4 separate regions of the Homo sapiens genome follow, and regions 1, 3 and 4 are each linked to region 2. Evidence: promoter capture Hi-C in 16 types of primary human blood cells and fetal thymus (Javierre and others, 2016). All regions are on one chromosome and are shown on one strand. Each heading gives the region's core, a stretch centred on a gene start or on the middle of the fragment in contact. The rest is flanking DNA. Distances are from core to core; before and after follow the strand shown. Region 1 overlaps VPS13D (vacuolar protein sorting 13 homolog D). Region 2 holds the start of DHRS3 (dehydrogenase/reductase 3). Region 3 overlaps VPS13D (vacuolar protein sorting 13 homolog D). Region 4 overlaps VPS13D (vacuolar protein sorting 13 homolog D).

Evidence for each region. The method cuts DNA at HindIII sites, captures the fragments that hold promoters and counts their contacts. A CHiCAGO score of 5 or more calls a contact.
Region 1: a fragment that was not itself captured here is called in contact with the fragment with the promoter of DHRS3 in region 2 in 10 of 17 cell types (activated CD4 T cells, naive CD8 T cells, non-activated CD4 T cells and 7 more); the score reaches 14.9 in activated CD4 T cells.
Region 3: a contact is called between a fragment that was not itself captured here and the fragment with the promoter of DHRS3 in region 2, in 4 of 17 cell types (non-activated CD4 T cells, activated CD4 T cells, naive CD4 T cells and 1 more). The highest score is 8.1, in non-activated CD4 T cells.
Region 4: a fragment that was not itself captured here is called in contact with the fragment with the promoter of DHRS3 in region 2 in 8 of 17 cell types (activated CD4 T cells, total CD4 T cells, naive CD4 T cells and 5 more); the score reaches 15.1 in activated CD4 T cells.

Annotation. Positions count from the first base shown.
Region 1 is chr1:12,429,737-12,435,795 of GRCh38, reverse strand. All of the region lies in intron 65 of VPS13D (vacuolar protein sorting 13 homolog D), which reads right to left. Among named protein-coding and RNA genes, the nearest start is that of SNORA59A, 74 kb to the left of the region's middle. RefSeq lists a cis regulatory region at 2,232-2,242 and an enhancer at 2,165-2,309. The HindIII fragment of the contact is 6,682 bases long and covers 1,039-6,059 here.
Region 2 is chr1:12,615,833-12,622,546 of GRCh38, reverse strand. It overlaps DHRS3 (dehydrogenase/reductase 3), which reads left to right and starts at 4,337. Exons shown (of 6, transcript NM_004753.7): 1 at 4,337-5,393. The coding sequence starts at 5,199. RefSeq lists a silencer at 2,330-2,581 and enhancers at 2,817-3,448, 3,449-4,080, 4,081-4,712. The HindIII fragment of the contact is 18,116 bases long and covers 1-6,714 here.
Region 3 is chr1:12,474,419-12,480,333 of GRCh38, reverse strand. The region is part of intron 67 of VPS13D (vacuolar protein sorting 13 homolog D); the gene reads right to left. Among named protein-coding and RNA genes, the nearest start is that of SNORA59A, 30 kb to the left of the region's middle. RefSeq lists enhancers at 873-1,729, 1,730-2,587 and a silencer at 1,946-2,240. The HindIII fragment of the contact is 1,795 bases long and covers 1,426-3,220 here.
Region 4 is chr1:12,383,234-12,389,312 of GRCh38, reverse strand. It overlaps VPS13D (vacuolar protein sorting 13 homolog D), which reads right to left. Exons shown (of 70, transcript NM_015378.4): 59 at 3,940-4,053; 60 at 2,979-3,128. Among named protein-coding and RNA genes, the nearest start is that of SNORA59A, 120 kb to the left of the region's middle. The HindIII fragment of the contact is 6,419 bases long and covers 1,620-6,079 here.

The DNA.
Region 1 (6,059 bases), core at 3,130-5,629, 190 kb after region 2:
TGTATCCCCTTGATAATACAGCCTTACATGGTTAATCCCTGCAAATATATCGCAGAGAGGTTCGAGAATGAAGCCTACTAGATAGAGTGCTGCTTTTGCACTGGTATTAAGAGGACGGGCTCTGAATCAGAGAATCTCGGTTCTTAGCCTGGCTCTCCTTGTAACCTTGGGCAAATTAGTTAATTTCTCTGAACGTCAGTATCCTCATTTACAAACTAGCATTCCACAGGGTCGTTATGAGGATTAAACAAATCAATTTGTATGAAGACTCAGAACAGTACCTGGCACATAGTGAAGCAGTCAATAAATATGAGTATCTTTTTGTTGTTGTTGTTCAGACAGGGTCCTGCTCTGTCACCCAGGCTGGAATGTGATGGTGCAAACACAGCTCACTGCAGCCTCAACTTCCTAGGCTCGGATGATCCTCCCACCTCAGCCTCCCATGTAGGTGTGACTACAGGCGGGTGCCACCACGCCCAGCTAATTTTTGTATTTTTTAGACTTTTTTTTTTTTTGGTCATGTTGCCCAGGCTGGTCTCGAACTCCTGAGTTCAAGCAATCTGCTCACCTCAGTCTCCCAAAATATTAGTACCATTTTTAAAGCTATCCATTCAGTTACTAAATTCAAAACTTATTTCAACTGGGCAATCAGTATCAGTGTCTATCCCATGTTTTCTGTATAGCAATGCTGAGAAATAAAGATAAATGTAATTAACATTTTAAACACTTACGGTAAGGATACACTAACATATTCCGCAGGGCTAAGTTAACTACTCCATTGTAACTATTTATTTCATAAACTGCATGGCAAGCCTGACAAGCCTACTGGTCAACTTTGACAAAAGATTATGTGAGACAAATGCCAAGGAAATACAAAATTAACATTGTTGTTACTCCTTATCAGACCACAGACAAAAACAAACCCACCAACAGTCCAGAATGAAGGAAACAGGTTGTTGGCTTTTGATTGGAATTTCCTAGGATTGTTACCATGTAGTACAAGATTAATCTAAATGTTTCTTTGTGCACAGACAAGCTTATGTGGAATGTATCAGAATAATATAATAAAGGCTTAGGTTTATGTGTGAACAAAACTGCTTTCAAAAATGTATCATTATCAGGCTGATTAAGAAAATACCACAGATTTAAACATACCTGAGGCCTATAAATAAGTTAGTTTGCTGCTTACTGGGGGTGGGGGGAATACACAGGCTAAATAAACAAACGAAAGTACAGGAAAATCAAACACTTTCAAATGAGCTTTCTTCCTTAAGTAGGTGTAACTAAAACCCAGTTGTATGCTAGGACTACTGAGTATTTTCAAGATAGTGCATGCTGTGGCATTTTAAACCACAGAGCCAAGCTGCTACCACCGCCACCTCAACCACCAAACTTTAAGAGCACACGCTGTGCACTGACTCATTTCATCCTCCCAGCAGCACCCTTCACAGCTGGCAAGTGGATTTTCCAAGCAAAAGGGAGAAACCTAGAACACACCACAAATAGGTACCTATTTTTGCCTTGATGTGTCAAAGTCAGAGAAAAGGGCAAAATTCAAGCAGCTGACCAACGGCATTTCAACAACAGGATGTTCCCAGGGAGACTGCGGCAAAAGATGTCTTTCACAGTATATGTAATTCCACAAAAATAGCAGTTAAAACCAATACGGCATCAGGCACAATGAATGACAATTTCAGGTTAGAAATAACCAAATGCTCAGCCTCTAATTTGTTTTCTTCTGTTTTGAGGGATAAAACAGAGGAATAAAGAATGTGCTGGAAATTTGGGGAATGCACTTCAAACTTCTTTCCTCCTCCTCCTCCTCCACACACACACACACACACACTCTCTCTCTCTCTCTCTCACTCTCTCTCTCTCCCCACCCCCTACCTCCTCCTCTTTGTAAAAGGCCTTTAATTAGCTCACATCCTATCCTGGCCAGGGCTGCCTAATACATTCTGACACCAGCCTGTTGGCCAGGCAGTGGGGTCTAAGTGCAGGCCTGATTAGCGGGATCCCAGTGGATCCCCTGCCGCTCTTATCTCCACAGATGCCTGATGAGTTTGGTATCTTCCTCCCAGCCCTCCCGGGAAGCTGCCCCAGCAGGTGCCCATTGGCAATAGTTTTGTGTTACAGGCCTGAATGAATGATCCCCGCAGGAGCTGCCGACTGTTTTCACAGACACAGAAGGCAGTCAAAAGTCCACTGCGTGAACTTGGAATGACCCCAGCTGCAGAGTCACTGGCGGGTTCATCGGGAGGGCAGGCACGCTTTATTAAACAACTAATACTCTTCACAGATAACTTTCCGAAAAAGCAAAAGTGTTAACTCTTTGCAATCTTGCTCTGACAAAACACTTCAGCTGTGGCGGGGCTCCCTGTGTGACTGAGGGTCTGAACCCAAGTGAGGGCTCTGAGATGGAGGAATGGCGCCAGCAGGGACCATGATTTCATCTGGCCTGAAGAAGGGTTGGGACTCAGTCACCATTTGGTCTACTGTTTTGTTGTTGTTTTTTTGTTTTTTTGTTTTTTTTTTTTCCCCAAGCGTTCCAGATTAAAGCGAAAAGGCAAAAAGCAAAGGTTTCGAGCACCTACTCCAGGGAGGACAGTGTGGCTGGGAGTCAGCCTGACAGTTACAGCCCCCAGCCAGGCCGGCTCTCAGCACCTCCAGAACAAGAGGGTGGCCCCTGGCTCATTCTGCCACATGCCTGTGCACCCTCGCAGATATGCGTGGGCCCCCATGGGGCTTCCATTCTAAGTTACCAGGAGAGAAAAGGTACTAAGGTACTAAGCTGTGAAGGCCATTGCAAACTCTCATCACCTGTGGGACTGGTGGGGCAGTCATTTTGTTGGCAGCAGCCAGATGCTGTGCAGTGGGTTCCCTTTAGAAGGAGGACTCAGACGCCAGGCACAGTGGCTCATGCCTGTAATCCCAGCACTTTGGGAGGCTGAGGCAGGAGGATCACTTCAGCCCAGGAGTTAGAGACCAGCCTGAGCAACATAGAGAAACCCCATCTCTACGAGAAAAAAAAATTTAGCCAGGTGTGGTGGTGTGCTCCCGTAGTCCCAGCTACTCAGGAGGCCGGGTTGGGAGGATTGCCTGAACCCAAGAAGCAGAGGTTGCAGTGAGACAAGATGGTGCCATTGCACTTCAGCCAGTGAGACTGTCTTAAAAAAAAAAAAAAAAGGGAAAGGATTCAGAAAAGGAAAGGGGTTCAGATCAAAGTGTTCTCATAACGAAGACAAAGCCATCACAAGTTCTTCCAGGGTTGCTGGACAGCAGGCAACTGGACACATCCACATTTTCAGTGTCCACTGAGAGGTACAGCAAACAGCCACTTCTGTCCTAGGGCAAGAACCAGTACTAAAGATGTTTTCGCTCTTTTCTTTTTTTTTTTTTTTGAGACGGAGTTTTGCTCTTGTTGCCCAGGCCGGAGTGCAATGGCACAATCTAGGCTCACAGCAACCTCCGCCTCCCCAGGTTCAAGCGACTCTCCTGCCTCAGCCTTCCAAGTAGCTGGAATTACAGGCATGCACCACCATGCCCATCTAATTTTGTATTTTTAGTAGAGATGGGGTTTCTCCAAGTTAGTCAGGCTAATCTCGAACTCCCGACCTCAGGTTATCCGCCCGCCTCAGCCTCCCAAAGTGCTGGGATTACAGGTGTAAGCCACCGCACCTGGCTTGCTCTTTTCTTTCACACAGCCTTTAGAAAGAACCCGATGACAATTCTAACAACATACAGAGAAAAACATATGAACATTTAGAAAAATTTTAAAATTCATTTTAACCCACAAAGTTAGATTAATTTTGGCATCACCCAAAGACTATGTGTCTATTAAAGTTTCATCTCTACTACATCTCACCACTGCCCACTAAATCTAATTATAAAGGGATTCCCTATTTCTTTCTTTTCATGGGGGCAGGTCTTGTTCTGCTTTCAGGAGAGATGCAAAAGTTTTGCATGGGTTTACTCACTGGGTAAGATTCTGCTGAAGGACTAGTAATAGAAGGTGCTTTAAGGAGCTGTACTACCTGCAGCCCCTTCCGGTAAGTTGACCTTGACACAGAACAGACTGGTTCAGTGCAACAAACCCTTGAGGGCTTCCTAGATCACAGGCTAAGTGCTTAGGGTTAAAGATACCAAGACGAGTATGACTTAGTCCCTTGTACTCATGGAACTCAGTATAGTATGGGAGACAGACACACAAATGGATAAAAAATAAAGAACGCTGAGAAGATATACAGTAGGCAAGGCTTACACCCTACTACTTTTCTCCCCCTCACTCCTACCAAGCAGGTGCCCACAAGCTGCCGGCCCAGTCTCAACAATCATACTAGATCTGTAGCCAGAAAGCCTGGGTTTGAGGGCTAGCCCTGTGACTAATTAGCTTTGAGAACCTTACAGGGTCTCAGTTTCTCTACCTATAATTTGAGAGGGCTAAAGGCTGGCCTTAAGGTTCTTTCCCAAATCTGCTATCCAAAGAGTTTCTACTGAATATCAGCGATTGTGTTAAGAGTCTGCATCTGGGAAAAGCTATTGTAGCTTTGCCATATTCAGCTGGAATAACTAAGAAAAGTTTTAGTGTTGACACATCTCTTAGGAAGAATACAAGATGGGGTTAAATAGGCAAAAGTTAGAGAGTTTAAATTATCATATGAAATATTATTAAAACTAGGCTTCTCACCAAATTCAATTTTTTAACATAAGTTAGACACAGTTCACTGTTATGTTTTTACCTTTTACAGAGAAACAAGTGGCAAATTCTTCCTGTGTTTAGTCCTAACAACTTTTATCTCTCCATATAATTTATTTGTTGAGGCACCTCAGTTTGTCACGTTAATTGATTTCTAAGCAACTCTTCTGTAGCAATCCTACAACTTTCACTTGCTAATTCTACTGGACACAAAATCCAAACAGGCTGGTAAAATCTATCTGGCTTTGCCCCCTTTTGCTTTGTTTCTTAGTGATCGTAGGACTGGAGATTTGCATGACCCGCTGAGACTATAGAACCAAGCATTCACACAATCTGGCGTGGGTGCTAGGAAAGCAAGGCCCTCTTGGAAGCAAGATGTTTCACAGCTGTCTTCAAGGCATCAGAAGCTCCTCTGGCTCTCCTCTGAGAAGGCTTAGTGTGGTAGGAAAAGAGTGGGCTCAGTGTTTGTGAAGCCTGGGCACCATCCCCTGGTTCCAACACTGACTGCACGGTCTTGGCAAAACCATTTAACCTGTGTAACTTAATTTCCCATCACTGGAAGGGAAATGATAATCATACCTAACCTGCTGGCCCCACTGGGATGTTGCAAGGTTAAATTATCTCACAGACGTGAAAGTGCTTTAATTCCTGAAGGAGGAAAGAGTGCTTTCTAGAGCAGCAGTATGGTCTTTGAAAAGAGCTTGGGGCTGTAAAGAGCCTGGTCCTCTTCCACAAACTCCCTGTTTGACCCTCCAGAAGTTAATTACCTTCACTGTGACTCAATTTCTTTATCCGTCAAATGGGGATAAACTTGACTCTTTAATGCATAAGTTTGTGAAGATCAAATAGTAACAGGAGGACGCTACAAAGGTTGAATTGCTATAAAACTACAAGGAGCCATGAGTGCCTCCTCTTTTATAACTAACTTTGGCATGATCCTTGCTCATTTCCAAGTTACCAATAAAGAGAAAATTACCTCAATGGCCACAATATCCTGCTTTGAACATTACAATGGCAACAAAACTGAGACAAGGGGCTGTTTGGGAAGCATGTTCTGCTTAATTTTCACTTCAGTGAAAACAATTAAGGTTTCCAAACCAATGTTTTATTATATAAATTCAACAGCTTGCAGGAAATGTTTACTTCAAACATTTTCCTGGAATAAAGCAAATATTTCCCATAAATATTATTTTAATTCATTAGATTAAAAGGGACTAGGTTTTCTTCTCCTTCCTCTAAACCAGCTTCCTGCTACCTTAAGCGAAGCCTGGGTCCAATCAATAGTGCCCACCTGGCTTCATGAGAGCCAGGTCAGTATCTGCTAAGCGCTTGCTGTGCCCCAGTGCTGTGCTAGACCTGAGGC
Region 2 (6,714 bases), core at 3,088-5,587:
GTTCCATGGAAAATACTCACCTGTGGCGGGGCATGGGGGAGGCATTCCTTGGACTGAGGGGAGCCGTCTAACCTGCTTTTATATGTCCAGTTTTACCCACCAGGCCTCACCGAGGAGGAAAGGGGCCCTCTTGGCAAATGTTCTGTATTAGGAAGGGGACGTGTTTTATGAGGGTTTTAAATCGTCTCTGGCCTTTGCAGATTTGCTTTCCTGGACCATGGTCCCCATGGGTCCTCTCCCTACAGGGATTTTCCACTCACCTGATGCCTGTTTTCTCCTCTCTGTTGCCTCTGGCCAGGCAAACTGCCCAGTCGGCCATCGCATACAACTCATGTTTTCCCAGGAGCCTGTCTCCACGAAGAGACCCTCCAGGGCAGCTGATGTTAAACTTCGTGGAACACTTTTTTCCACTAGACCAGGCAGTTTTCCAAATCTCCCTGGCTAAACACTGCCAGCTTGTTCTGCTCAGGGGAAAGTAGCCAATTGTCCCGCAAAGCCATGTACGTGTGTGAGTCCACGTGTGTCTGTGTGCACATGCATTTGTGTGTGTCAATCACACCAAGTCATTGGTATTAAAATCCTGCTCAAGAGCTGGAGGAAGGGTCAGGAAGGAGGCAGAACAGCTCAGCAGTGAGCACAGACCTGCTGGGATTTGGCTCCGGTGACTGCAGTCTCTTGGGAGGGGAGGGGAGAGGAAGGAAGGGGCCCCCCATCCCCACCCCAAAGTCCCTGAGCTGGGCACTCATGGCAGCAGAGCTCCAGGTGTCACTGTTCACCCATCATGAGCTGGTGGCCCGTGGCCATCCCTGGCCTGAGTACCAATGGCCTCCTCACTGTTCTCCCGACAACCACTCAGTACCCAGAGCTATCCTGGACCCAGCAGCCTGAGCAGACTCCGAAAACAGAGATTCCATCACATCTGCCTTTGCTCCACAGCCCCCTCCCAAAGGCCCTCATCGCACTGCAGATGAAACCCAAAGTCCTCCTCCTGCCTGCGGGACCCAGCCTCAGCGCTTTTCAAACCTCAGTGAGCAAAGGAGCACCTGGGGATCTCGTTCAGTAAAAAGCAGAGCCTGATTCAGGAGGGCCAGGGTGGGGCCTGGGATTCTGCATTTCTTTTTGTTTTTTTGAGACAGAGTCTTGCTCTGTGGCCCAGGCTGGAGTACAGTGGCACAATCTCAGCTCACTGCAACCTCCACCTACCGGGTTCAAGCGATTCTCCTGCCTCAGCCTCCCAAATAGCTGAGATTACAGGTGCATCCCACTGTACCAGGCTCATTTTTGTATTTTTTATAGAAACTGGGTTTCCCCATGTTGCCCAGGCTGGTCTCAAACTCCTGGCCTCAGGTGATCCGCCTACCTCGGCCTCCCAAAGTGCTGGAATTACAGGCATGAGCCACCGCACCCGGCCTGGATTCTGCATTTCTAACAGGCTTCTGGTCCAGGAACCACAGGGTGAGTGTGGATCCTCGCTGCACCGGGGGAGCTGAGCCACGGAAAAAGTTAGTTCTCCCAACTGCAGCTCGCCTCTTCCCTTCAAGCCCAGAAAGCCTCCTTTCACATTTTCAGGGACAGACCTGGGATGTGAAATTTCAAACTCTGCCCTGAGTTAAATTCCAGGAGAGGGTACAAGAGCAAAGGATAAAGGCTGGGGGAGGGAGGGAAAGGCAGAGAGGACGTGTCCCTGCTGTTCTCACTGAAGCCAGGCCACACGACCCTCAGGGCCAGCCTGCTGAACTGTGCACACACACATCACCCCCACACAAGGTCTCCTTGGCCCCATCTTCCCAGGGACCTCGGGGGAGGGCAACAGAGGAGGTGACAAGTTTCTCTCTGAGCAGTTGATGCTGGGAGAAACGTGTGGCTTGCAGAGCTGCCAGTCCCACAAAAACCACATCCTGAAAGATGGACCAAGTAGAAAAAAAGGCCACCATCCACCTCAGGCCAGCTTCTGGAACTGTCAGTTCCTTTGGGGAATGTCTGACATGTTCTTTTTCCCTCTGATTTCATCCCAAACCTTTTGAGAAGCAGGTTGCGTGGCATTGCACAAGTTACTTAGATTTACTGAGCCTGTTTCCTCCTGCAATAAATGGGCACGAGCCTCCCTGGGCTGTTAAGGAAATTCAATCAGAAACTGTGTAAAGGCCCTGAGGCACTAAAGGCCAATTTGGGTTCCCGACCTCCTTCCCACCGTCTGCCCTCCATCCCAGGCACACAACCAGAGAGATGTAAGAGGGACCTAACGGTTACCCAGCCGGTCTGGCATCTGACCGGGGTGAAAATGCATCTCTGTATATGAGTTGCTTCATATCTTTTGGCTTTAGTTTCCCCAGCCATAAAAGTGTGTTTGGGGTGGGGGAGGAGGACTATGATCTTCACAAGCCCTTTTAGACTTGGGGTGTTAACCTTACATGAGAGAAATGCCTGGAAGAAAAGCATGGCTAGTTAGCAGGAACGCCGCTGGGTTGGAGGCCGGGCAGCTCGGAGGCGCAGTATCCTATCTGGGCCACCAGGCGGCTCCGAGGACAACAGATGAGCAAAGCCCGCTTTTGCAGCCTGGTTCTGTCTTCAGATCTTTCCAGGCTTCTTCGCAGGCCTGGCGGACACCAGCCGCTGCTGGGTGGGAAAGGCCTGTCACTCCCAGGCTGGAATCGCTTTCCCATTTTTACAGACCTCGAAGATGAGAGGAGGCCGTCACCACAATGGATTCCGGCCCTGGGGTCTGATGGAGACATTGGTCCGCCCTTCGGTCAGACTCTTGGGGGCGTTAGGGGGGTGGGGGGGTCTCTGCTCTGCAACCCTTAGCTGAACCCCATCCTCCACTTCTCTCCTCCCGTCTGGTCAGAGTGGGAAGAGGTTTGGATTGGGATCCCCCCTCCTGCACTTCCTGGCTGGGTAACCTGGACGATGGGATAACAGTCCCCCGATTGCAAGGTCAGGGGAAGGACTGTGTCAGAATATAGGCCCTCAGTGCAGGACAGTTGCTCATCCTAAGCCTCTCCTGCCTTTTGCTCTTCCAGTGGCTTTTCACCCAGAAGGAAGATCCTCCCCTGCAGAACCTCTCCCCAGAACTAGGTCTTTGCAGGTGACGAGGTAATCCCAGCCTCCCCTCCCCGCAGATCAGCGTTTTTCGAAGTGACTTTCTCACCAGGCGGAGCATTGAAAGTACCGATCCCAGCGCACCCAGCCCTGCTGAATCAGAATCTCTGGGGGTGAGGCCCAGGAATCGCCGTCTGAACAAGTCGCGGGCTGGAAACGGCTGCCCCAGATTACAGGGCAGCTCCCTGCTTCGCTCTCGCTCCTCCGGCCCCGGGAACGTGCAGGGGGGCGGGAGGCAAGTCCCATCAGCACTTTGAACTGGGGCTGCTTTTTAGTGACTCACCTCCCAGACTTCCTGCAACAGACAACTCTAAATAGCTCGGTCCCACCCTCCAGCAGGGGAGACATTCCGGTCGGGAAGGGCAGGAGGTTAGAAGGTGGGTGCCCCGCCAGGGCAGTCCAGGGAGACCCAAGGACAGGAGACGCTGGCTGCACAGCACAGGGGCGCACGAATAGGACGTTTTGTTTACAGGCTTTTGTTATTAAGGAAATTGGTGTCAGTCAAGGTAATTCTAGCTCAGATGAGCAATAAATATGCTCCCAGCTAATCTTGTGGGGATTTTATTGGCACTCGGAGCAGAGGTTCCTTTACCTTGACTACTCCCTCCCCTCAAAGCAAAGTCCTGCTCCCCAGCGGCTTCCCCCTAAGCATCGTGAGGCACTTGGGTCAGGCTTTTAAAAGTCCACTCTACGTGAACACAGAAGAGGTCCGGGCAAAGGTGAGGAGTGGCTTCCTGATCCTACCTGGAGGCCGAGGATGACCAAATGACCTGAAATAAAACCCTGGGTGACCTGGTTGGATCAAGGCATACGCAAGCTCCCCCGGGCCTGCTCCACACTCGGGGTGATCACCTGGCCCGCGGGCGGCCCGGGCAAGGAGGAACGTCTCGAGAAGGCAGCCGGCTCGCCGGAGTCGGTTCCAGCGTGTTCGAGTTACAGCTGCGAGCCCTCAGGGACACCGGCGGCAAGTCCCGGCTTGCAGAGAGGGGAGCCAGTCCCGGGAGAGCGCGAGTCCCGGCGAGCCCGAGTGCGCGCCTTATGCGCGCTCCCCGCGACGGCGCAGGGGGAGGGGAGGCCGCAGCAGCCACTCAGAGGAACGGTAGTGAAGCCTCCCAACAACTTTAACTGTCAATCAGACTTAATGGGGTATTGAAAAAATGGGGGAAAAAGGGGCCGCCCTCTCCGCGACGCGGCTGCCCGGGGAGCGAATGAATAGGGCCGCGCAGACCAAGGCGTCCGATCCACGCGCGCTCCACACCCGGACCCTCTCCAAGTTGGAAAGGACAAAAAGAAGGCAATAAATGCTAAAAAGGGAGAGAAGGGGAGCTGGATCGAGCGGCAACTCCCAGCCTCTGCTGGAACAGAGAGGGAGGGAGGGAGCCGGAGCGAGCGAGCGCGCGCGAGGGCGAGCGCTGCACGTAAAGAAACTGACACCCGGACCCCCCACTTCTCCTGCACGTTGCTGGCAATCAGATCGCGTTTAAGCAATTTCCTGAGCCCAAGAATAGCAATGAGTCGGGAGACTTTCGCGGGCTGAAATTGGGAGCTCCAAGCACTTTTTCCCCCCACTTTTTTTTTTTTTTTTTTTCTGGAGACGGGGTGGGGGTGGGGGCGCTACAATTTGGAATCAGCTTTTTTTTTTTTTTTTTTTTTTTTTTTAATCTTGCACTTTGAAACCGCGGGACCGAGGCAGGGTGCGCGCGTGTGGTTGGTGCCTTTTTTTTTTTTTCTTCCCCTCCCTAAACTCCTCTGTCAGTCTGTAAACATTACCTGAGAATTCCCCAGCCGAAACGGCTGCTGGGGCAAGAAACTTCTTGTTAGAACTTTCCACCTCCGGCTTCCCCCTCCACCTCTTTTACCGTCCCAACCTTAGGAGACGCTTTTTCTCCCCCAGAGGAGAATTTATCTTTTTTTTTTTTTTTTTTTTCTTTTTCTCACCCGGTGCTTTGCATTTGGGAAGAGGTGATTTCAAGAGTGGCCAGGTGGGACGCCTCTCTCCTCCTTATTCGGTTTACTATTTATTGTTCGGGGTGTTTTTTAATTCCTGTATTGCTCGGCCCGGGGAGTTTCGCCCCCTGCCCGGCTCCGCGGCGCGGAGGATGGTGTGGAAACGGCTGGGCGCGCTGGTGATGTTCCCTCTACAGATGATCTATCTGGTGGTGAAAGCAGCCGTCGGACTGGTGCTGCCCGCCAAGCTGCGGGACCTGTCGCGGGAGAACGTCCTCATCACCGGCGGCGGGAGAGGCATCGGGCGTCAGCTCGCCCGCGAGTTCGCGGAGCGCGGCGCCAGAAAGGTACCAGGCACTGCGACTCCAGGGAGTGGGGGGCCGCAGGGGCGGGGGTAAGCCCACCTGCTGCCGCTGCGGGATCCCGCGCCCGGGAGCTGAGAGTCGCCGGCCACCCCACTTCTCCGCGCCACCCACGAGTGCTGAGCTAGTCGGTTTCACCTTGTAAATTTCCCGGGCACCGGACTGTCTTTTTTGGCAGGTTCAGAGTTGATCCGCTCCTTTGGGATCGGTGGCTGGCTGACTGGCTATTCACCCCCACCCTGAAACCTAAGAGACCCACCATTTCCCACATTCCTGCCTCCCAAAGGAAGGTGTTGTGCCCCCCTCCCCCGCCTTCCCCCCTTTTTCTTGCCGCCACCCTGGTGAGTGCAGGGTGTGCGCACTCCTGGGTAGAGCTGGGAGCCGCCTGCTAGCTGGCGCCTCGTATTTTCCTTGGCAACCCGCTACCCAGCCCCAACCTGGGCGGCTGCAGCTCTGAAGACACGAGAGAGGGTACTTGGTTTGGGTTTGAAAAGGGAAGAGCGGTCTTGTATGCAGTAGTCTGGCCGGACCGACACTGAGAGGCCCAGGTGTTTGGAAAGCAGGAAAGAGGAGGCCAGGGTAAGCAGCTACTGATAAAGAGCCCTTGTTCTCACCTTCAACCCTGTCCCCTCCCCCCCAGTACACCCCCCAGGGATCCCTCCCCATTTAGCTGGAAGGTGGTGCTGCAAGGAGGGTCCTGCCCACCAAACACGGCCTTTAACTTTTTGGTGGTCCTGGCACCCCTTGCTCCAGGTTTTGGAGACCTGGTGCCAGAGTGGGGAGAGTGGGCAGGCTGTCACCCAACTCCCAGCCCAGGCCAGGCTGACTCACGCGGTGACCAGAGCCATCAGGAGAGGGAGGCAGGCCAGGCTGTCTCCAGCCAGCCCTGTGAAGAGGAAGAGCGAAAACAGGGAATTAGTTTGAAACTTAAACTGTTGTGAACTAGGGGGGTGAAAGGGCCGCAAAGCCAGCTGATCTGACATGGAGCCGCATACCTTGGGGATTAAGTAAATATGTACTGTAGAAAACCAAACCTGCATGTAATTCCAGGTTGCTTTTGTTTTGTTAAATACTGCCCTGAGATTTACAATTCCTCCGGGGTGGCTCTGACTGGGACTGAACTTTGGAGCCTGAACTATCAGCCAAAGCCGATCCGATTAACTCTTCCCTAGCCGGGCTGGCCGGAGCCTGTGGTGGCCAAGCTAGCAGGGGTCTGGCTGTCCAGGACTCCCTCTTCTCCTTGGGTGGTTTGGACAGCCGCTTGACCTTGCATTTGGAGGGGGAGTTGGGAAGCGTTTTTAACCCT
Region 3 (5,915 bases), core at 1,074-3,573, 140 kb after region 2:
TACTGAGCACATGCACCTGGGACAGTCTACTGCGGAGGCTTCTTGTACTGTGTACCAGCTGGAGTTCCCAGGTTACCGCCTGGTGAAGATGGTCTTGGCAGCATGGCAGAGCAAAGATGGGTTGCAGCAGAGAAGTGTCACTGCTATTCTGTGACAAACTGGCACACTGTGAACTTGGAAGGCTGCAGTAGTTCATTATTTCAGGAGTGGAATGGGGTACACAGGGATGGACCAGGGACAGCACAGCTCCTGGGCACAAAGCTTAGTGACCTGCTTCTCTAGGCACTGGCACTAAAAGGCCAGGGTCTCTCCATGCTCAGGCCCACTGCTGTTTGGCCCAAAGAGGCCCTTGAACATGAGCCCTTCCAAGCTTCCCAGCTATAGTATATCCCTCACACTGTCTCTGTGTTAAGCTGGTGGGCTGAGGGAATTCAATACATACCCTTCATTCGCATTGTGGGGTCCAAATTTTATAGTACCTCCTCTCCAAGTGAACCAGGGTCTTTGCACAAATCTTCTGGGCTATAGGCAGATATTAAGCTCCTACCCTTCATATCCAAGAATCGAAAGGAAGTAGACCTAACACTTGGTCAGATGCTTTGGATTGAAATCATGAGGTCTTTCGATGTGAGGGACCGAGAGATGGCCCAGAAGCAGCACAGAGATTAGGAGCATGTACTCTGTGTTCAGTTGGCCAGGGTCCACATTCTGGTTCCCTTCCTTACTACCTCTGAGATCTTAGACAAGTTACGTATCCCCTGTGTGCCTCAACTTTCCCATCTGTACAATGGGGAAAGTATAGCACCCACCTCATAGGGTGGTTGTGAAGACTGAATACTAATGACAGCGATACCATGCAAGCTAGTCAATGTTTTGGATCAATTTCTGCAGCACTGTCATCCCGAGCAGGTGTCTGCCTAAGAGGCATTGTCCATTGCAGACAAGCAGCAATCTGGAAGTGACAGACACAGATTTCTTCCTGGACACCATGGACAAAGCACAGGCAGGTCCCGAGTTTGGCCAAAGAACGTGACTGGCTGATGGACAGGACTAAACTACCCCTTCGCCCACTTTCTTCCTTTTGTCCTTTGAACACAGGCAGCCCTTTCTTTCTGACTATACTTATGCTAAATCCTTGTTTGTCTGCCCATTTCCTCAATGCAGTGCCCACTGTAAGAACCCAGGCCACTCCAGGCCTTGCTGTGACAATGTGCCTATTTCTACATGCCCTCCCTATTGAATGGACAGAGTTCCCATGGGGCCACCGGCCTCGGACAGTGAGAACTCTGGGCTCACAGGCCACTCCGTGGGGCGGCCTTCCACCTGCTCTGTTTTAGCACCTGGGCGTAGCTGTGGAAGGCCAGAAAGCAAGGCTATTAACAGCTTTCGAGGTGATGGGGAAGGAAAACGGCATCATCCCAAGCTTGACAAGAGCACTCCACGGCCGGCATCTGACCCACCTCTGCCACCGATGCGGCCTCCTTGGAGACAGGCAGGTTTCCTGTGGTGTCAGCCCTGTTTCCTCCAGCAACATTATACCACAAACAGAGAGCTACTCTGAAGAAAGCACTAAGGTGTCCCGTTTCTGGCCGGGGGGAGGGAGGCAGACTGCTTTGCTTCTCCAGAGAGAAACATCACCGTGCCTTGACCCTCTCTAGACAGCGTTTCTTCCTCTCCCCAGTCCTGAAAAGCTGTTTGAAGAAAAGAAACGTGCAGGCTTTCCTTTATGACCTCAGATGGGCAAGTTCTGAATGGCAGCTGGTTCTATTACATGCAGTGTGAGAGGGTTAAACAGGACAGCCTCGACTCTTTATAAACTTTTGCCCTGTGGATATGCACTCATTGGCGGCAGTACAAGACTCGAGCTGTATTACACGCCTTAATGATATGGTTCAACTGTCGGTCAGGCTTGGGCCTGGCATTGGGCCAGACCGCAATCAATGGGACACAGAACCTCCCCCTTTCAGATCATCACGAAGGCTCATATTATCTCCTTTTCGTCGTGCTGGTTAAATTTATGGAGCAGAACCCTGAAGCCGCATTCCTCGGCCTGGGCCGGCCCACGCGGCACTCCCTCCCTTTGTTCGGTACTGTAAGCCAGCCGTGCTTCGGAGGACTACAGGGTTGTTAGTTCAGGCACTGACTGTTTGCTCATGACTGAAGTGAAAAGAGTTCAGGGGAAGGGCAAAAGGACAGCCCAAGTGTAAAACCCCATCCCAGCAGGCCCTGGGCCCCTATATATAGGCCCCGAGCTGCTCCTGAATGTCACATTTCACTTTGTTCTCACAAAAGCAAAATCTTCAGTCTGATCCCTGACGAACCTTCCATAAAACAGCTGCTGAGTCCTCCTACAGTGCACCCCCACTTGAACTCCTGGATTTTCTGGGGTGCCATGGGAGGCAAGATTGCCCTTAATACAACCACACTAAAAAGGAGACAGATCTCTATAGCTATCTGCTAGTCCTTCCAGGTTCCACAGGAGATGGGAATGCCAACCCTGGTTACTAGCTGGTCTTATTTTTAATGTAGAAAAAAAAAATTTATTTTTCGGTCTTTGGCTATAAGGGAGGGATACGTGAGTGCTGTATGTGAATGCATGTGTGTGTGCACAGGAGGGAAGTGTTTATAGGGGATTTAGTCTTATGGAATCAAATAGGAGAAGGTCCCAAGCATTAGACCTGCCGAATCTATCCATGTGTTCTCATTAATGCTCTGATTAGCATCCAAAGTGTTAAACAAGCAGCTCACATGGGCAGGACTTCATTTTAGTTTTAGAGTTTAGCCCAAGAGGAGGGCTTTCCTGGAATGTTCTAGAGTGGCACATTTACAACTCACTACAGAGGACGCCACTGGAGGGCTGGAAAGGCAGGTCATCGCGGAGGTGAATCCAGGCTCTCCAAGTGATTAACTGTGAGTCTATGGTTTGTCACATCGAGCTGTTGTGTATTAGTGGGTCCACCTGTAAAATGAGGCTACTGGGTTGAATTTTGGAAGTCTGAAATGATTACTAGAACTCTTCTAACGAAGGCCCAAGCAAAATAGAGAAAGAAAGAGTAGGAGGAACATAGAGAAAAAATCCAAAACCAAAAACAAACCAAAGGTATAAGAGGAGCAGGTGGGAAAAATGGCCTCTGAGGGGTGAGCCACTGCTGACTTGATACGTGTTTTTCTGGTCAGTTTTGTCTTCACCCATCTTGATACTAAGAGTTGGGCCCAAGCTTGTTAAAAATAAAAACAGAAATCCCATACTAGCAACTACATGCCCACTGGCACTTTCCAATTCCGGGCAGAAGCAGACTTCTTTGATGGGGTTCAGTGAAGCCAGTGGTCTGTTTCAAATCAGACCCTAGTTCTATCTGCAGGTGAAAAGTCACGCTTCCTCCTTCGAAGTTAAGCTATGTATTTCTGAACAGAAACTGTAAATATACTCTCGGATTTTCCTCACAAGGTTTCCTTGTCTACTGTGTTTGGAGCTGGTAAGTGAATTTGCCATTCCGAATCTTAATTTAAAGCCCCTTTTGGTGGTGGAGGCAGGGTAGAGAGGAGGTGCCACGGATCACAGAAAACCATCTCTTGTTATATCCCTCTTGTCTATGCTTTTGTATACTATTTGTTCTGGTTTGTTTAAAATATAGTGTTATAGAGAACCACTTAAGCTGGGAAATAAAAGGCAACAAAGAGGTAGGCTAAATTTAGGAAATTTTCAAGAAAAATGTGTAATCCAGTCAATCTGTCTCCAGTTATTCATATACATGTTCAGGGTTCAATTAAGTCTTTAGTCATAATATGCCACATCTCCCAGGACAATCTACAAAGCACTTGCACTCACATGATCACGCAGGTTACATTAATACACGTAAATGAATCCAGTCTCCATTAGGCGTTGAGTGTGTAACACGAGGACTCCTGAAGGCCTACTTTGGCCCATCATGAGCCCAGATGCATCAGGAGTCTCTGATATATTAAAATTTGGAAAGCTGGACCTACCCCTGAGAATGAGACTTTAATATGGGCCAAGACAGACTGAGAACTTATAAACTCAATGCCCCTGCTTCCTGTTGACTTTTTCTATCTCAGGATCACTTTTATGACAATATTCCAGGAACATGCAATTCTAAGTAAATAAACTGGCCAAACTCTGAAAATGCAGGAACACAAGTTGCTTACAAATGAGATGTAGAAACCAGGACAAAGAGAGCTGCCATAGCAGACTCACTGGTGTGCACGCTTCTCTCTTGTACATTCTGTGGTTTGCCTGTTCCACGAGCTATGTGACACTGCTATTTACTCTAGCACTGTGGCCAAGGCTAAGAAGTACTCATCTAATATGGGTTTGGGAACTAAAAGGAAATATGTTTTGGAATTTACTTTTTCACACCCACACACCATTCTTGTACAAAATGCCTCTGTCAAGGTGTTTTTTTGTTTTTTGTTTTTTTTTTTTTAAACATTGATTTCTTGGCCATCAGCTAAAAGAAACTAAACATTCAAGTACCTCCACGATGACTGAGCATGCGGGAAGTGGTTTATTTACAACAGGTTCCCTGGACATTTTATTTGATGTATGCTGTCCTGACAGACTCCACCCATGTGATCAAGCCTGCTATGTATGTCTGGGGCCACTTTGTAGTTTTCCCAAAGGTGAAATCAGAGGGAGGGCTGAAGTGGTGACAAGGCCAAATTGGCTACAGACTCAATCCCTTGCGGGGATGAGATGTAACTCACTTAAATGGTGCTAAGTCCAGCTGGGGATTAGGCTAGGGCCACAACCTGCCAAAGAATACTTTAGGTACACTACAGCTGCAGATTAACCTAGTGCTTTTTTATTTTTAGAATCCATTATCGGGCTGCCATATATTCTGCATGGGCTTTTTCTTCATTCTAATATCCAGCTTCCTCCCTGATGGCAGAGCCAGCCCTAGGAAGGGAGCTTCCTCTGTGCCACTCCTCCAGGAAGTTACACAACTAGTTATTCACCTCAGCCATGCAGACATGACCAGGGCAAGGATGACCCTCTCCCCCTTTGTATGGGGGAGAATGACCTGAGATGGGGATATAAAGCTGTCTGCACAAGGTCACAAAGCACAGTAGCATCAGAGCTGGAGTCAGGGCTCTGCTCTTGTGATTTGCAATCCTGTTCTCTTGCCAAGGGGCCAAGCTGCTTCCAGTACCCAAAGGGAACATCCAATAGCTTATTTTGATCACAGAGAGTTGAGTCAAGAAGGAACTGATCCTATGCTGACAAACTGAATGAATGTGAACTGCTGCCACTTCCGCACAATACATCAGGACGAGGCTCCATGCTACTCTGTCAGCTCCACCACTGCCTTTGGGAAAAAGAATAAAATCCCATGAATCTCTCTAAAACTTAAAAAAAAAAAATCTGCATTAGTATATTGGGCTTTAATAGGGTTTTTAAAAAATCTGTCACTACAGTGCGTTGTACTTATCATATGTTCTAAGAAGAGCCCAAGTCGCAAATGAATTGCCTGTGGCCTGAATGCTATTCCCCCAAGAGCTACCTCCCTTGCCTAAAGGATACCCAGAATTTCCTAGGAGGCTCAAAAGGCAACAGTTAAATTTCGGGAATTAGGACAAATGGGAGGATGAAGTTTGAAATGAATTACAAAGGGAACATTTATAATCTAGAAAATGTTCATTTTCAAAGGCTCAAGGCATTACGATAATCCACAGTTATCGATCTTGTATTTTCATTATGCAGAAATCGTGAAATAAAAGGTGCATGATGAAAGCAGTGTTTGAAAGGGCCCATCAGACTTAGCTAGAAATGAAAGAAATAGTTTTTCCTCTTAAACGCTTAGCCCTGAACTTTTTTTTTTTTAACAGACCTAGGGGACCCCGACCTACATAATAATATTGTTGTGAGATTGTCCTGGTGGGAGTCAGACAGATCA
Region 4 (6,079 bases), core at 3,580-6,079, 230 kb after region 2:
CAAAGTATTGATCCTGGGTGTGTCTGTGAGGGTGCTGCCAAAAAAGATTAACATTTGAGTCAGTGGGCTGGGAAAGGCAGATCCACCCTTAATCTGGTGGGTGCAATCTAATCAGCTGCCAGCAAATATAAAGCAGGCAGAAACATGTGAGACAGGCCTACCCTCCCAGCCTACATCTTTCTCCCATGCTGGATGCTTTCTGCCCTTGAACATTGGACTCCAAGTTCTTCAGTTTTGGGACTCGGACTGGTTCTCCTTGCTCCTCAGCTTGCAGACAGCCTATTGTGGGAACTTGTGATCATGTAAGTTAATACTTATATACATATCCTTTTAGTTCTGTCCCTCTAAGAGAACCCCGACTACACCAGTAATATTCTTTACTTTGAAATCTATTCCGTCTGATGTTAATCTAGTCATTCTCATTTCCTATGACAAGGGTCAACATGTTATATCTTTTTTCATCTTCTTTCCTTTTAACCTATTTGTGTCTTTATCCTTAATGTGTGTTTCTTGTAGGCAACATATAATTGGTTCTTGCTTTTTTATACAATTTGATAATCTCTGCCTTTTGATTACGGTGTTTACAACATTTAAATTTAGTTAATTGATACCATTAGGTTTGAGTCTACCATCTTGCTAATTATTTTTTATTTGTCCTATCTATTCCTTTCCCTGCTTTCTGTTTTCTGCCTTCTCTTGGATTATTTTTTTATGATTTCTTTTTTTTTTTTTTCCCCCTGAGACAAGAGTCTCCATCTGTCACCATGCTGGAGTGCAGTGGCACAATCTTGGCTCAATGCAACCTCCACCTCCTAGGTTCCAGCAATTCTCCTGTCTCAGCCTCCCGAGTAACTGGGATTACAGGTGTGTGCCACCACACCTGGCTAATTTTGTATTTTTAGTAGAGATGGGGTTTCACCACGTTGGCCAGGCTGGTCCCGAACTCCTGACCTCAAGTGATCCACCTGCCTTAGCTTCCCAAAGTGCTGGGATTACAGGCGTGAGCCACCTCACCTGGCCTAATTTCATTTTATCTCCTTTGCTGAATTATTAGTTATAACTCTTTGTTATTTTGGTGGTTGCTTTAAGAGTTTATGCTGTTTATCTTTATAATTCTACATTCAAGTGACATCATACCACATCATGTATAAGATTACACTAATAGACTTCCATTTCTCCCCTTCAGCCTTTATGCTATTGTTGATAAGAATCTCACTCTTACTTTAAATAAGAAGAAAATAATCTTATATATTTACCCAGGTAGTTATCATTTCTGGTATTCATTACTTTGTGTAGAACAGACTTCAATCTGATACTATTTTTTTCCTTCTGCCTGATGATGTTCTTTTACATTTTTTGTAGCATGGGTCTGCTGATACCTTTCAGTACTTTAAAGATGTTGCTCATTGTCTTCCCACTCTCATTGTTCCCAAAAAGAAATCTGTTGTCATTCTTATCTTTATTCCTTGGCACATAGCATGTCTTTTTTTTCTTGTTCCTTTGCTTTAACACTGGTTTTGAGTAATTTGATTATGATGTGCCTTGGTATAGTTTCCTTCACAGTTGTGTGCTATATTCCATCCAGTGTAGTTTTCATTACATTTTAATCTCTACAAGCTTTAGTTTTTTTATGTCTTCCATATTGCTACTTAACCTTTTGAACACAGAGAATACAGTTACATTAACAGTTTTAACGTCCTCCAAAAATTCTAACATCTGTGCCAGTTGTGAATCAGTTTTGACCAATTAGTCTCCCTACTTAACCTTTTGAACACAGAGAATACAGTTACATTAACAGTTTTAACGTCCTCCAAAAATTCTAACATCTGTGCCAGTTGTGAATCAGTTTTGACCAATTAGTCTCCTCATTATATAGAAAGTTTTCCTACTCCTTTGCACACCTGGTAATTTTTGATAGGATGTCAGATATTGTGAATTTTACCTTGTTGGGTGCTAAATTGTCATATTCCAATAATCTTCTTGAGCTTTATTCAAGGATATGGTTAATTTACTTGGGAAGAGGTTGATTCTTTCGGATCTTCCTTTTATGATTTCTTAGGCAGTCTATAGCAGTGCTCAGTTTAGGGCTAATTAATCATGAGGGCAAGGCTTTCCTGAGACTCTTCCCAACGTCTCATAAATTCTTAGTTTTTCCAGTCCAGCTGGTGGGCACAAGCACTATTCCTAGCCCTGTGTGGGCAGCAGGCACTGTTCCCTCTGATCCTTTCAGATGGGTAGTTTCCTCACATACATCACTGACTAATACTTGGCTAAATACTCAAGAGGGACGGTCTATAGATCTTCAGAGTTTTTCTGTGCAGCTCTCTATGCCCAAGTGTACCATCCTATAACTATAGATACCTTGGTCTCTCTAGACTCTCAGCTCTGTTTTCTCAACTTCTCCACTGTGCTGGGTACTTGCTTGGTCTCCCCTCCCTGGAAACGTTCTCAAATTGGTAAGAAAGGCAATTACAGGGCTCAGCTCGTTTGTTTCCCACCTGTCAAAGCACTGTCCTTCATTGTCTGATGTCCAGTGTCTCAATACCATTGTCTTCTTATTTATCTGGATTCTGGGGTTGTTTCAGGTGGGAGGGTAAATTTAGTCCCTGTTACTCCATCTTGACTGAAAGCAAAGTCCAGTTCTTTAGTTTGTTCTCCCTATGACAGACCTCAATCCCTCCGAATGATGGTTAGATGACTTCCTATTGGTTTTTCTATTGGCAAGATGGTGAACCATGGGTCACCTTCCTCCATGACACCCTGACTGAGTTACCTCTAATATATGCAGAATTCTGCTGTATGTAGAAAAATTAATGAGACGAATGTAGGTAGAAACAACTATTTCACAGAATGATTTTTTGAAGGCCACAAGATATTTCCTCCAAAACATTAAAGTTCTTAGAACATCAAACATTAGATCTGGTTGGGTGATCAGCATGAAAACAAGGTGACTAACAGCTTTGGAACTTCCCCCTTACCTGTACATCCTGTATGCTGAGTTCAAGCATGTGACTGGTTGCCAGCTGTGTATAGTGCACATTGATTCCTGTAAGACTTGCAAAGACCAGTTCTTCTGGGACTTTATTAATTAAGGACAACCCAATTCCACCTTCTAACCTCACAAGCACCTGAAAGGAAACCAAAATATGGCACCCTGATTGTTTTAAACACAGCTCACAGTATCCAGGAGAGTATAAGAAAATAAAGCATTTTACATTCCTCTACTCCCGATCTCTCAGCAGATGAAAACCACTTAGGGGAGTCCTATTATTTACCTGGAGGGCTCAAATGCTATCATCTCACTGGAAGCCTTGCTTTCTAGGCATACCCTTCACCCCAACGAGAACTCCAGAGTATGTGATGATACCTCTATCAAAGGACTGATGACATTCTGCATTTCATTATAGAAATCTAATTATTTGGTAATCTTTCACCTTATTTGGGATGAAAGCTCATAATCTGTTATCCACTACACTTCCATAGCACCCAACACAGTGTTTTACACATAGGCATTTGATTTTTTCAAAAATCACTGAATAAACGTCAGATAAATATACTTTTTCATGTTCATCTCATCTTCCTTTTCAAACTTGTCACTCTCCAATCCCAAACAGAGAAAACAGAAGGAAGATGTCAGAGATGGCTGAAGCAAAAAACAAAAAATTGTTTGTCTTAAATCTTACTGAAATTCAAACAATTTAGCTTCCTTTATTGTAATAATAGTTTAGCAATGCTTACTACATGCTGATTCCACATAAACTTTGTTGTCATTTACATAATACATTCACACATTCACTGATAAACAGTAAACACTGTGAAGCGTAACTCATATTTAGAATCATACAGGATAGAAAGAAAACAGAAGGTCTAAAATACCACCAAGTAAAATTCTAAAAAACTGATGATCAAATAAATAAATTCACAATATTTAGACCTTACTTCCAATTCCTGCTCTGTATCTGGATTCTTTAATTTCTGCAGCTCTTGTTCGGTGACAGGAAGTTCATCCACTTCATATGAACGGCTGCTTTTCCGGTGGCAGAAATCTGTTATCTGAAGTCAAATAAAACACCACAAGAAGATGATTCACTCTTCCTTATTGAAACCTATTCTAACCCAGAACAACTGTGTAGGTCAAAAGTCATTATATAATCAATAATCCTATGGAAGCGAATGGTTTCCAAAGCACTGGTAAGGTAAGATTTGTGTAATAAAGAAGCAAACTTGGTTTCAAGTCTGCATGGCAAACTCAAGCTATACACCTTGAGAGCCTCACGTAGTGGGGTTAGATATCTGCAGATGATCTCAAATTATAGCTCAAGTCAAAATATGCAAACCTCAAGATCACTGCATTCATTTTTGCCTTAAGATTGTTTTTTAAAGTGGTATTGTGAGCCGGCACAGTGGCACACACCTGTAGTCCAAGCTACTTGCGAGGCTAAGGTGGGAAGATCGCTTGATCCCAGAAGTTCAAGACCAGCCTGGGGAACATAGCGAGACCCTATCTCCACAAAAAATGAAAAGTAATTAGCTAAGCATGGTGGCATGCACTTAAGTTCCAGCTATTCGGGAGGCTGAGGTGGGAGGATCACCTGAGCCCAGGAGTTCGAGGCTATAATGAGCTATGATTTTGCCACTTCCCTCCAGCCTAGGTGAAAGAGAGTGACATAGCTAAATAAATAAATAAATAAATAAAAAGTGGTGTTGTGAATTGTGATGCACTATCTCAGAGAGCTCATTGCTACATTCCAACATCTTTTTTTTCCTTTGTTCTGATTACGCTATGACCTAATAAACCCTTATCCCCATCACAGATCTCTCCCCTGGGTTTCAGAGCCATAGTTACAATGACTTATGGACATCTTCACATAGATATCACACAGTTACCTTAACTCAACAAGTCCAAAACCTAACTCCTCCCTTCCTCTGCAAGTCTGCTCCATGTTCATCCCTTAGTGATCTGGATTATCATCCTGTGAGTTGCCCAAATCAGAACCTTGGAGGCCATTACTGACTCCTTCCTCTCCCTCATTCCCACATTCAGTCACAAAATCTGCCTGACTCTACTCCTAAGTAAGCTCTCATTTCTATCCATTTCTCTCCAGCCTCCTCATGTCCACCCCTGCCACTTCTTCCAGTTCAGGCCACCATAACCCTTCATTTACATTAGTGCAAGAGCCTCCTACCTGGTATTTCACTATCTCCAGTCTTGCCCCACTCTGCTTCTCTACATTGCAGCCAGAGGAAGTGATCTAAAACAATTTTCTAATCATGCCATTCCCTGACTCCTTGTTGCCTTAGAAAAACCACAAATTCTTTAGTATGTATCTCAGACTTTTTATGATCTGGCCCCTGCTTCTATCTCCAGCCTTCTTTCTTACCACATTCTGTGTGCCACTTGGGCTGAGGATCACTCTGCTACCTGTGGGCCTTCACTAGTCAACTTCCACATCGTATGTCATTTACTTCCTATGTTTATTGGTCAATGATGGTCCATCCCCACTAGAATGTAAGCTCCAAGAAGGCAGGGAGTTTTGTCCGTTCACTGGTAAATGTTCCGTACCTAGACCTGTGCTGGCTCAAGTAGCTGCTCAGTAAATACCTGTTGATGAACATGCTTATTACTGAGGGCACAGCCCCTCCACCTGTACCTTTCTATTTGGCTAATTCCTTTCAGTTAAACTCTAGGTCTCAGTTTAAGTACTACTTCTCTTAGGAAGCTCCCCACCCTCTAAATCTGGGAATACAAATCCTTTCCATACACCCTCCACTCCTACTCTCATTAACACAATATTTTAATTATCTGATTAAGGATCTCATATCTTCTTGTTGTTAATGTTATTAAGATATTATGTTATTAATAATAATTAACAACACTATTAATATGCACTGTTAACATTATCTTGTTTAAATCTTATACTTTTTTAGGTTACCACATATTTCATTGATACTTTGTTTATACTTTACGCTTATCTTTTTGTTGTACTTTAGTTCTTGTAACAACTTTGTGAGGTAGATCCTATCCCCATTTTACAGATGAAGATACCATATCTTCATATCTGGCATAAACATGTTCAAT